3 separate regions of the Homo sapiens genome follow, and regions 1 and 2 are each linked to region 3. Evidence: promoter capture Hi-C in 16 types of primary human blood cells and fetal thymus (Javierre and others, 2016). All regions are on one chromosome and are shown on one strand. The core of a region is centred on a gene start or on the middle of the fragment in contact, and the rest is flanking DNA. Distances in the headings are between cores, read along the strand shown.

Region 1 (3,516 bases), core at 194-2,693, 760 kb after region 3:
CGCCTGTAATCCCAGCTACTTGGGAGGCTGAGGCAGGAGAATCGGTTGAACCCAGGAGGTGGAGGTTGCAGTGAGCCGAGATTGAGCCACTGAACTCCAGCCTGGGCGACAGAGCAAGACTCTCAAAAAAAAAAAAAAGAAAAAAAAAAAAAAAAAAAAAGTTGACTGCACCCACACATTCATTGTCCAATCTTAACCTAAATTGTTTTTTTTTTTTGAGACATGGTCTCACTGTCATGCAGGCTGGAGTGCAGTGGTGCAATCATGGCTCACTGCAGCCTCAACCTCCTGGGTCAGGTAATCATCCCACCTCACCCTCTCCACTAGCTGGGACTACAGGTGCACACTATCACATCTGGTCAATTTTTTGTATTTTTTTGTAGAGACAGGGTTTTGCCATGTTGTCCAGGCTGGTCTGGAAGTCCTGGACTCAAATGATCTGCCCACATTGACCTCCCAAAGTGCTGAGATTACAGGCATGAGCCACTGTGTAAACTTTAAAAATTTTAACCAAAGTTCCCAAAGATTTAAAAAAAAGGGGGGGGGGGCTTAGATAGATGGGGCTTGAACCTTGTGAACCACAATGTTCAATGTAAGACACCACACCCAGCCAAAGTCATATATTTTAATATATCTATGTGGTCTATTTCTGCAGAACCTTTAATAGCTGAAATTTCTTTTTTTTTCTTTTTTTTAAGACGGAGTCTCGTTCTGTCGCCAGGCTGGAGTGCAGTGGCGCGATCTCGGCTCGCTGCAACCTCTGCCTTCTGGGTTCAAGCAATTCTCCTGCCTCAGCCTCCTGAGTAGCTGGGACTATACACAGACACACGCCACCATGCCCAGCTAATTTTTGTATCTTTAGTAGAGATAGGGTTTCACTATGTTGGCCAGAATGGTCTCGATCTCTTGACCTCGTGATCTGCCCACCTCAGCCTCCCAAAGTGCTGGGATTACAGGCGTAAGCCACCGTGCCCAGCCGTGAAATTTATTTCTTAATGCTTATAGAAAAGTTTTAAAATGTATTTTAATTAAAATTTAAAAATTTTTAAAAATAAAAGAGGCCAGGTGGCCTCTTTTAATAAAAGGTGGCTCATGTCTGTAATCCCAGCACTTTGGGAGGCTGGGGCGGACAGATCATTTGAGGTCAGGAGTTCGAGATCAGCCTGGCCAACATGGCAAAACCTTGTCTCTACAAGAAAATAACAAAAATTAGCCAGGTGTGGTGATGCACACCGGTAGCCCCAGCTACTCCGGAGGCTGAGGTGGGAGAATTACTGGAACCCAGAAGGCAGAGGTTGCAATGAGCAGAGATCATGTCCCTGCCTTCCAGCCTGGGAGACAGAGAGAGATCCTGTCTCAAAACAAACACACAAGAAAAACCCCAAAAACAAAACACCCCTTGATCATGACACAGAGAAGCTGAAACTATCCATAACATCCATAATTCGATGTTAAATCCCCAGTGGGACACAGATGACTTGGTGAGACTAATGAAATAAATGACAGCAATGATAACTGACATACAGATTAAAAGCTAAATTCCTCAGCCTAGCTCCCAATCACATCTCCCCAAGTAAGACCCTTCTGTTTCCACCAGAATGAATGCGTCTACACTTGACCTACTTGTTACTCAAATTACTTCCCCAATCTGGAATGTAGCTGAAGTTTTATGACTTCCCAACGGATTTTTTTAAAGGAGGAATAGGGATGGGGAAAGTGGTGGTCTGTGACCCAAGAACTCTTGCCCAATTAACTTGTCTTCCTGAAATTTCAAACTGAGTAATATACAGCAATTTTGTATGTATAACCCTGCAGAGAACCAGGACAGACTGAGTCTTTTACTTCTATTATCATATTTGTGATTTTTATATATCATCACACTGGCCAAACTTTACATCATCCCAAATCTTCATAAACTACAACATTATGCTCTAACTTCACAAATACTGTCTACTGATTACATACATACTTCAAAGTTCACTGGGGTATGGTGGTTTATGTCTGTAATCCCAGCAACTTGGGAGGACCACTTGAGGCTAGGAGTTAGAAACCAGCCTGGGTAACATAGGGAGCCCTGTCTCCACAAAAAAATAAAAAATAGGCTGGGCGCGGTGGCTCACGCCTGTAATCCCAGCACTTTGGGAGGTGGAGGTGGGTGGCTCACGAGGTCAGGAGATCGAGACCATCCTGGCTACCACGGTGAAACCCCGTCTCTACTAAAAATACAAAAAAAAAAAATTAGCCGGGCGTGGTGGCGGGTGCCTGTAGTCCCAGCTACTCGGGAGGCTGAGGTGGGAGAATGGCGTGAATCCGGGAGGCGGAGGTTGCAGTGAGCCGAGACTGCACCACTGCACTCCAGCCTGGGTGACAGAGCGAGCCTCTGTCTCAAAAAAAAATAAATAAATAAAATAAAAATAAAAAATTAGCACCCAGCGCAGTGGCTCACACCTGTAGTCCCAGCACTTTGGGAGGCTGAGGCAAGTGGATCACCTGAGGTCAGGAATTTGAGACTGACCTGGCCAACATGGTGAAACCCAGTCTCCTCTAAAAATACAAAAATTAGCCGGGTGTAGTGGCGGGTGCCTGTAATCCCAGTTACTGGGGAGGCTGAGGCAGGAGAATTGCTTGAACCCAAGAAGTGGAGGTTGCAGTGAGCCAAGATTGTGCCATTGCACTCCACCTGGGATACAGAGCAAGACCCTGTCTCAAAATAAATAAATAAATAAATAAATAAATAAATAAATAAATAATTAGCCAGGTGTGGTGGCACACACCTGAAGTCACAGCTACTAGGGAGGCTGAGGCAGGAGGATCCTTTGAACCCAGGAGGTTTGAGGTTGGAGTGAGCTATGATCATGCCACTATACTCCAGCCTAGGTGACAGAGTGAGACCCAGTCTCAAAATAAAAAAATAAAAATAAAAGATAAGAGATTGCTGGCCCTTGCTTAACTTTTAAAAATTTTTTTACTTTGAGATAGGGTCTTGCTCTGTCACCCAGCCTAGTCTGGAACTCCAGGACTCAAGTGTACAATCTACCCACCTCAGCCGCCCAAAGTGTTGGCATTACAGGCGTGAATCACTGTGCCCAGCCCCTTGCTTAGCTTTAAAAACAAGTACACCAAGGTTCTTTTACATTGGCATTGGGTAATAGCTGACAAGATGCATCTCAAACTGCTATTAAAGAAACCAATGAGGCCGGACGTGGTGGCTCAAGCCTGTAATCTCAGCACTTTGGGAGGCTGAGGCAGGTAGATCACCTGAGGTCAGGAGTTTGAGACCAGTGTGGCCAACATGGTGAAACTCTGTCTCTACTAAAAATACAAAAATTAGCTGGGCACAGTGGTGCACACCTGTAGTCCCAGCTACTTGGGAGGCTGAGGTGGGAGAATCGCTTGAATCCGGGAGGCAGAGGTTGCAGTGAGCCGAGACTGGCCATTGCACTCCAGCCTGGGAAACAAGAGTGAAACTCTGTCTCCAAACAAACAAACAAAAAAGCCCCAGTGAGCATAATATGT
Region 2 (3,837 bases), core at 1,028-3,527, 540 kb after region 3:
CCATTAGGCCTTGGTGACATCACCCTGCCTGGGAAGGGAGGGGTGCTGCTTCATTACTGCTGGATGGGATTGAAATCCAGACTCCCTACCTGGTCTCCACTATCTTATCAGGGAGTGAGTTGGAAGGGCTCATTATTCACCAGGTGGGGATGAAAGTCCCTGGTCCCTATTCTGACACCAGCTGAGTGGAGTGAGGATATTTCCTGTGGAATTTGGCCGCAGTAGAGCAATTGTTGTTTAAAACTTTAAAAGTTTTCCATCTTGCTGCTCTTTTCCTGGTCCTTTGGCTAGAGAGAACAGGTTTCTGTTTGTAGTTTTCTTTGTCTACACCTGTTGGCATTTCTGGGTTGTAGGCTTCTCGAGTACCCAGGTCTGAAACACATGAAGCATAAAGAAAATCAAGAACTCAGTGCTCGGCTGGGTGTGGTGGCTCATACCTGTAATCCTAGCACTTTGGGAGTCTGACACTTGAGGTCAGGAGTTCGAGGCCACCCTGGCCAACATGGCAAAACTGTCTCTATAAAAAATACAAAAATTAGCCAGGCATGGTGATGTGCGCCTGTAGTAGTCTCAGCTACTTGGGGGACTGAGGTGGGAGAATCACTTGAGCCTGGGAGGTCCAGGCTGCAGTGAGCCGAGATCACACCACTGCACTCCAGCCTGGGCAACAGAGCAAGACCCTGACAGAAAGAAAAAAAAAAAAAACCTCAATGCTCTTTCTTTGGGTCCTCTGGTTCCTAGCCAGTCTGCTTCCTTCTCTCCACCTTTCACAGTCTTGTTTTGTCTTAAATGTAACGCCTCATGTTTTTAGCTATATTTAGCAGGAAACACGTTTTATATATGCTTTAATGAGATGTTGAAAAATTGTCCTGCTTTCCATAAAGATTTAATAATTTACACTCTATCAATACCTTTTAAAAGTGCCTATTTATCTACACCCTCCCCAGTCAACCTGTTTATACCACATCAGTCATGGGCATCTCAGATGCTGTGGGGCCACGTCTCAGGGAAAGGGCAGAACAGTCTTCAGACCTATATACTGAAGCGTACTCAGGGATCTGATCAGGGAGGTGTCAGTCCCTACCAGTGGTGACCACCCATGATTGGTGAGCTAAATAGGCTTCTGTGCTAAATGATGGAGACAGCCTACTAATGTTTTGGAAGTTACCAGTTGACCGCCACTCCAAATTAGCTAATGTTTAGGTTTAAATATCTTGGAAACTTGAACTTTTTATATCACTAGTTTGCCTTTTTTCCTAGGCTACATATATATATGTATATATATATACACATGTTTATGTATATATACACATATATATACGTATATACGTATATATACACATATGTATATGTATATATATACACACATGTTTATGTATATATACACATATATACGTATATAAGTGTATATGTGTATATATATACACGTATATGTGTATATGCATATATATATGTGTATATATATGCATATATACGTATATATGTGTATATATACACATATACGTGTATATATATACACATATATATATACGTATATATATATGTATATATGTGAGCCGAGATCGCGCCACTGCACTCCATCCTGGACGACAGAGCGAGACTCCTTTCGGAGCTCTGGAGTCTCACTCTGTCGTCCAGGCTGGAGTGCAGTGGCGCGATCTCGGCTCACAGTAACCACCTCCCGGGTTCAAGCAATTCTCCTGCCTCAGCCTCCCAAGTAGCTGGACTACAGGCACCCGCCACAATGCACAGCTAATTTTTTTGTAGTTTTAGTAGAGGCGGGGTTTCAGCATGTTGGCCAGGCTGGTCTCAAACTCCTGATCTCAGGTGATCCACCCACCTCGACCTCCCAAAGTGCTGGGATTACAGGCATGAACCACCATACCCAACCATTTCTTTAGTCATAGATATACCTTCAAGTTTTCAAAGTGCTTTCATATTTGTGTTACAATTACAAAAAGACATTATGAGGGGGTTAGGAGTAATTACTGTCTCCACTTTATGGCCCAGGAAAGCTCACACAGTGACTTGGTGTCACGTGGTCTCTGTTGGCCCAGGAAAGCTCACACAGTGACTTGGTGTCACACGGTCTCTGTACCTGCAGGCTCAACAATTGTTTCCATCTAGCAATGAAAAAAAACTTTACAGTTTAAAAGTAATCCTCACTACTTCCCTCAGCTTATATGTAATGAGGTGTCACTAGTGAAAGATAATAAATTCTTTGAGATTCTCAGCCAATAAGGGAGAATTGATATCTGTACTCTGTACATGAGTTCTTTGTATTACTACTAAAACAAAAATAATTGCAGGCATGAGACAACAGCCATAGGTCTGTAGCAAATGTGTTCATGATTCATCAGAAGAATTGAGTCTGAAACTGAAAAAAAGAAAGTGGATGAGTTGTCCTTTAAAATGGTTGCCAGCTAACACTCATAGGGTTTAAGGATCATGTAATGATGTGTGGGTTTTTTTCCCTCAAAGACTTATTTACTGAGAAACAGCAGACTGTTTTTGCTAGGTCTTGCCTTTTTAATCACCCCCCTACCTAGCCAATGTCATATTGATAGGCGTCAGTAGTTGGTTTATTTCCCTCATTCTTTGTGCCCTGGGATAGGGTACCTCCTACCCAACTGGGGAAATTCGAGGCATAGACCTCGAAGGCTTCATATTTCAGACAGAACCCTATTTAAGTATATCGTTTCCTAAGGGCAGGGCGTTTAACACCTAAAAACTAATTTTCCTTTGGTTTTTACTTTTTTTCTTTGTACAACTTATTTTTCCCAAATGTATGTGTTTATTTTTGCATCTTGAAATTAATGGATTACAACTTGTATCATTTTTGTGTACAGTGATAAGTTCAGTTACATTTTTTCTTACACATTAAAAAAATAACTTTATTGAGACATAATTCACATACCATACAATTCACTCATTTAAATTGTAAGGTGAATGTTTTTCAGTATATTAGAGGGTTGTGACACCATCAGCACAATCTAGTTTTAGAGCATTTTCATCCTCTCCTCCCAAAAAGAAAGCCCTATGTCCATTGAGTTACTCCTCATCCTTCCCTCATTTCTCTGCCCCAGCCCCAGGCAACCACTAATCTACTTTCTCTCTGTATAGATTTGCCTATTCTGGAATGTGATATTATTATCGTATATGGGTTTTTGTCCATGATTCCTGGTTCCATAGTTCTTGTTATTTCCTAAGTAACTAAAATAAGCATGTATTTTGTTAAAGTATTTCTCCTTGGTTCCTGAAGTAGCTTCCAAACAGCTTCAGAGTGATAAAGGTGGAAGTCTTTTGTTACAATGTTGGGGTGCTTTAGGCCCCAGAAACAGGCCTGTGGCACTCCTTTCACCTGCTGCTTTTTCTCCCCAAGGGAGGCCATAGAAACTAAAAATATACTCTAATATTCCTCCACTGTTCTGTCTTGGAGCCGGCAATAAAGAAATTCTCTGACCTACCTTGTCTGATTGTAGGTCACAAGACACCCACTTCAGGAGTCCTGCCTCACACCCACAGGAAGGAATCCTGCACAGAGAGGCCAAGAAGAATCTGAACAAACAGGCCTGGCTGGGTTTCCCCACTCGGTCTGTTGGTATTAGATCATACCCTTTTTGCCTGATCACCTATCTACATGGTTATCTATGCTTCAGTCATGCATATCCAATGAAGTCTCCATAAAAGGCCCAAGAGGATGGGGTACGGAGAGCTTCTGGATAGCTGAACATGTGGAGATTCCTGGAGGGTGGCATGCCTGGGGAGGGTATGGAAGCCTCCTTACCCCATCCTACACCTTGACCTGTGCAACTCTTAATCCACATCCTATGTTAT
Region 3 (3,521 bases), core at 1-2,500:
CTGCCTGCCACATACTTGTTTGGCTCTTGGGCAAGCCACGTGTCTATACTTTGATTTCCTCTTCTGTAAAGCAGAGATAACATATCCACCCTGTGGGGTTGTTGTACAAAGATAGTGCCTTGTACACTCTAAGCTGCTATCATCCTCTCCTGAGTGGGTCTGGCGCACTACTGATCCCTGGTAATGTTAAAAAATCAAACACAACTGTGGGGGAATACTAGCCCCAGGTTCGTTTGCTCTCTCAACCTCCAAACTAGGGGGCACCCCCAGCTCCCTTACTCTGGGTGTTGTCTCTGTAGCCGCCATTTTTTCTTCTCTTGGTTCCCTTCCTACAAGAGCTTCTCAGTCGTGTTATTTACTCAGGCCTGAGGACAGAGGAGCCTGCGGGCTCCGGGCCTCTTGAGAAGTCAGTCTCGCTCACAGGTGGGACATAGCCCAGGCAGAAGGGCTGTTAGCAAATACGACTTTTTTTTTTTTTTTTTTTGAGACAGAGTCTCACTCTGTCGCCCAGGCTGGAGTGCAGTGGCGCGATCTCGGCTCACTGCAAGCTCCGCCTCCCAGGTTCATGCCATTCTCCTGCCTCAGCCTCCCGAGTAGCTGGGACTACAGGTGCCCGCCACCACCTCCGGTTAATTTTTTGTATTTTTAGTAGAGACGGGGTTTCACCGTGTTAGCCAGGATGGTCTCGATCTCCTGACCTCGTGATCTGCCCGCCTCGGCCTCCCAAAGTGCTGGGATTACAGGCGTGAGCCACCGCGCCCGGCCTACTGCTTATTAATTACCCCTGACCTCTGGTTTTGATTCTCGCAGTGATCCTTTAAAACACGCCTCGCCCTAATTAATAGCACCCTTTACAGAAGAGGAGATGGAGGCTCAGGGAAAGGTCACAAGACCACGAAGTGCCACTGCAAACTTAGAATCCAAAACCAGAAGTGCCATGGAAGCCCTCGCCGCGCCGCGCCGCCCCGCACCTGCAGGCGTCAAGGACGCGGAAGCCTTTGGAGCGCGCCAGGCCTGTGAGGAAGGCCCGGCGGCTGCGACCCATGCGAGGCTCGACCAGGTAGATGGCGACTCCCGGGAAGCGCGTCGAGGGCGGCGTGGAGGAAGCGGCATCGCCGCTAGGGGACCCGACCCGCGCTCGCCGCCGTTTGGGGAGCATTGGGACGACAGCCTCCAGCAGCGCGGAGCGAACGCAGAGGGAAACTCCGAGCGAGACGGAAGGAAGCCCCAGTGAGGCTGACGGAAGCGGGTGGGCGGGCGGGCGGCCGCCGGCTGGAAGAGGACGTGGCCCCGCCCTATGCAAATGAGGCCTCTCCGTGGGGCTCGCTACTTGGGCCAGTCGGAGCGCTGGGGAGGGTCCGGGCTCCTACAGGATTGGGTGTCCCGGCCGCTCCGGAAGACCCGCCTCCATGCAAATAACGGCAGAGGACCCGCCTTTTATTTAAATTAATGTCTCGGAAAGCGCTGTTCGGCCCCATTGGCCTCCGGGAGGAGAGGCTGGGCTGGAGCGGGGCGGGGAGGGTGTTGGAGGGGGTGGAGGAGGCGGGGTCAAGGGGGCGTCCCCGGCTAGGGAGGGTGAACTGGGACCTAGGCCCGGGCGGAGCGGGGTGGGCTGTGTCCTTGGCGCCGGGGCTGGGTCTAGGGTTGAGCCGGCGGCTCGGGGCGGACGCGTGCGGGCTGTGCCCGATCCCTCTGCGCTCGGGACTGTCACACGGAAGCCGGCGGGCGCAGGACCGACACGCGGGTTTCCAATGCGCTGGTGGGGCGGTCGCTTCAAACACGCGGGAAGATTTTTCAGTCGAATGGCATTAGGACAACTGGCAGGCCATTTGGAAAAATAGAAGTTGGTGCCCTTCCTCATTCCTTAACACCAAAATAAATTCCAGATGGGTCAAACATTTCCATCTAAAAAGGAAACCAACAACGTACTGGAAAAAAGTCGGTGAATGTTTTTATGATCTAAATATCACAATAAACTTGGAAACACTAAAGGAAAAGAATGATAAACTGGACTACAGACAAATTTTAAATCTGATTAAAAATTAGAGTCAGAAGATAAACTGGGATAAAGTGTGAGATATTTTGGAATTAAGATTATCTCATGATAATCTTATCAAATTGTCCATAGATAAAAAGACAATAATTTAATAGAAAAATTAGCAAAAAAACTCACGTAGATGATTCTTAGAAGAAATCCTGGTCAATAAATTTATGACCAGAGTGCCCAACCTGTCCAGTCGTTACAGAATACCTAAATGAGAATATCTTCAGTTGTGGGTTTATCAAACATTCAAAAAAATTGACCACACATGTTGAAGGTGCGAGGTAATTGGCAATCCATAGGAAGGACTGTGGAAGCCAATGTGGCAACCACATCCAACAAAATGAAAACAAAATAATACACATTGATCCAGCAATTCCTTTCCCAAGATTGGGATTGCATTGAATCTATAGATCAAGCTGGGGAAATCTGATGTCTTGATAATATCAAGTCTTCTGTCTATCTTATTTAGATATACTCCATTTGTAACCTCTGTTACGGTAGTGTGGCACTGCTCAGCCTAACTGATGGGACACCAGATCAGATGCAACCCCCTTCCACATGCCTCTCCTCATCACTGCCCCATCGTCCTCAGTCTTGAGCCCCAGACTCCTTGAGCACCTATCCTTTTTCTTTGGCTCCTCTCTGACATCTTTAGTGGGCTGGCTCTTCCCCATCTCTGCACTCAGAGCACAGGGCTGAGGGGAGTGGGGGAGATGGCTCAGCCCAGGCATCCTCTTGACCTCCTACACCATCTCCCAGCCTCCTAATTCATCTACCTCTTCAGGGCTGTAGAGCTTCCTGGGCCTCAGGACCCACATACAGAAGCCAGGAGGCCTGCGTATGGTCCCTCTCTCCCCATCCTCCCCTTGTGCCAGCAGGGATGGGCAGGCTCTAAGGGTCTTCGTCTGTGGATCTGGCTCCTACCCTTCTCAAGGAGGAGGCTCTGCCCAAATATCCCCTGAGCAGATCCCTCTAGCTGTCTAAAACCATTTCTGTTCCTTTTAATGTCCTCTGTCTGGCCAGAGCACCTGGGCTCCCCTTGGAGCCCTTGTTCTCTCCTGGGAAGGCAGAGGCAGTTTTTAAGACTATGAGACCTGAATACTTAAAACACTGGGCAACTGTGCAAAAATGTTTGTGCAAGGAATCTCATCCAAATGACAGTGGAAGAAACTGCCTAGCTTAGAAATCAGCCAGGCCCTCTGAGTGGTTGCTGCAAAGTGTCTGCTAGGACAACATGGGGCTGAAGGATTCATGAAGATTGGCCAGTGGGGGCAAGAAGGGGTGAGGAGGTGGGGAGAGAGAGGGACTTGCCTGCTCTGCAGGACGAAGATGTGCCCTATACCCAGGGAGAGGTGGCCTGCCGTGGAGGTGAAACCACCTTTGCAGAATTGTAAGTCATGAGAGAAATCTAACATGACTGCCTCCCTCTTGCATCTAACCTCACAGACTAAATTGGTTTTCTTATTTCTTTTTTTTT

The links. Contacts are between HindIII fragments. The CHiCAGO score rates a contact against its expected background, and 5 or more counts as called.
Region 1: a contact is called between a fragment that was not itself captured here and the fragment with the promoter of POLM in region 3, in 1 of 17 cell types (neutrophils). The highest score is 6.0, in neutrophils.
Region 2: a fragment that was not itself captured here is called in contact with the fragment with the promoter of POLM in region 3 in 1 of 17 cell types (neutrophils); the score reaches 5.0 in neutrophils.

The regions. Positions count from the first base shown.
Region 1 is chr7:44,837,295-44,840,810 of GRCh38, forward strand. The region is part of intron 3 of H2AZ2 (H2A.Z variant histone 2); the gene reads right to left. Among named protein-coding and RNA genes, the nearest start is that of H2AZ2, 9.0 kb to the right of the region's middle. The HindIII fragment of the contact is 6,713 bases long and covers 1-3,516 here.
Region 2 is chr7:44,615,342-44,619,178 of GRCh38, forward strand. The region is part of intron 1 of OGDH (oxoglutarate dehydrogenase); the gene reads left to right. Among named protein-coding and RNA genes, the nearest start is that of OGDH, 11 kb to the left of the region's middle. The HindIII fragment of the contact is 6,053 bases long and covers 1-3,837 here.
Region 3 is chr7:44,081,280-44,084,800 of GRCh38, forward strand. It overlaps POLM (DNA polymerase mu), which reads right to left and starts at 1,251. Exons shown (of 11, transcript NM_013284.4): 1 at 972-1,251. The coding sequence starts at 1,159. RefSeq lists an enhancer at 1,025-1,525 and a silencer at 1,237-1,816. The HindIII fragment of the contact is 8,170 bases long and covers 1-3,521 here.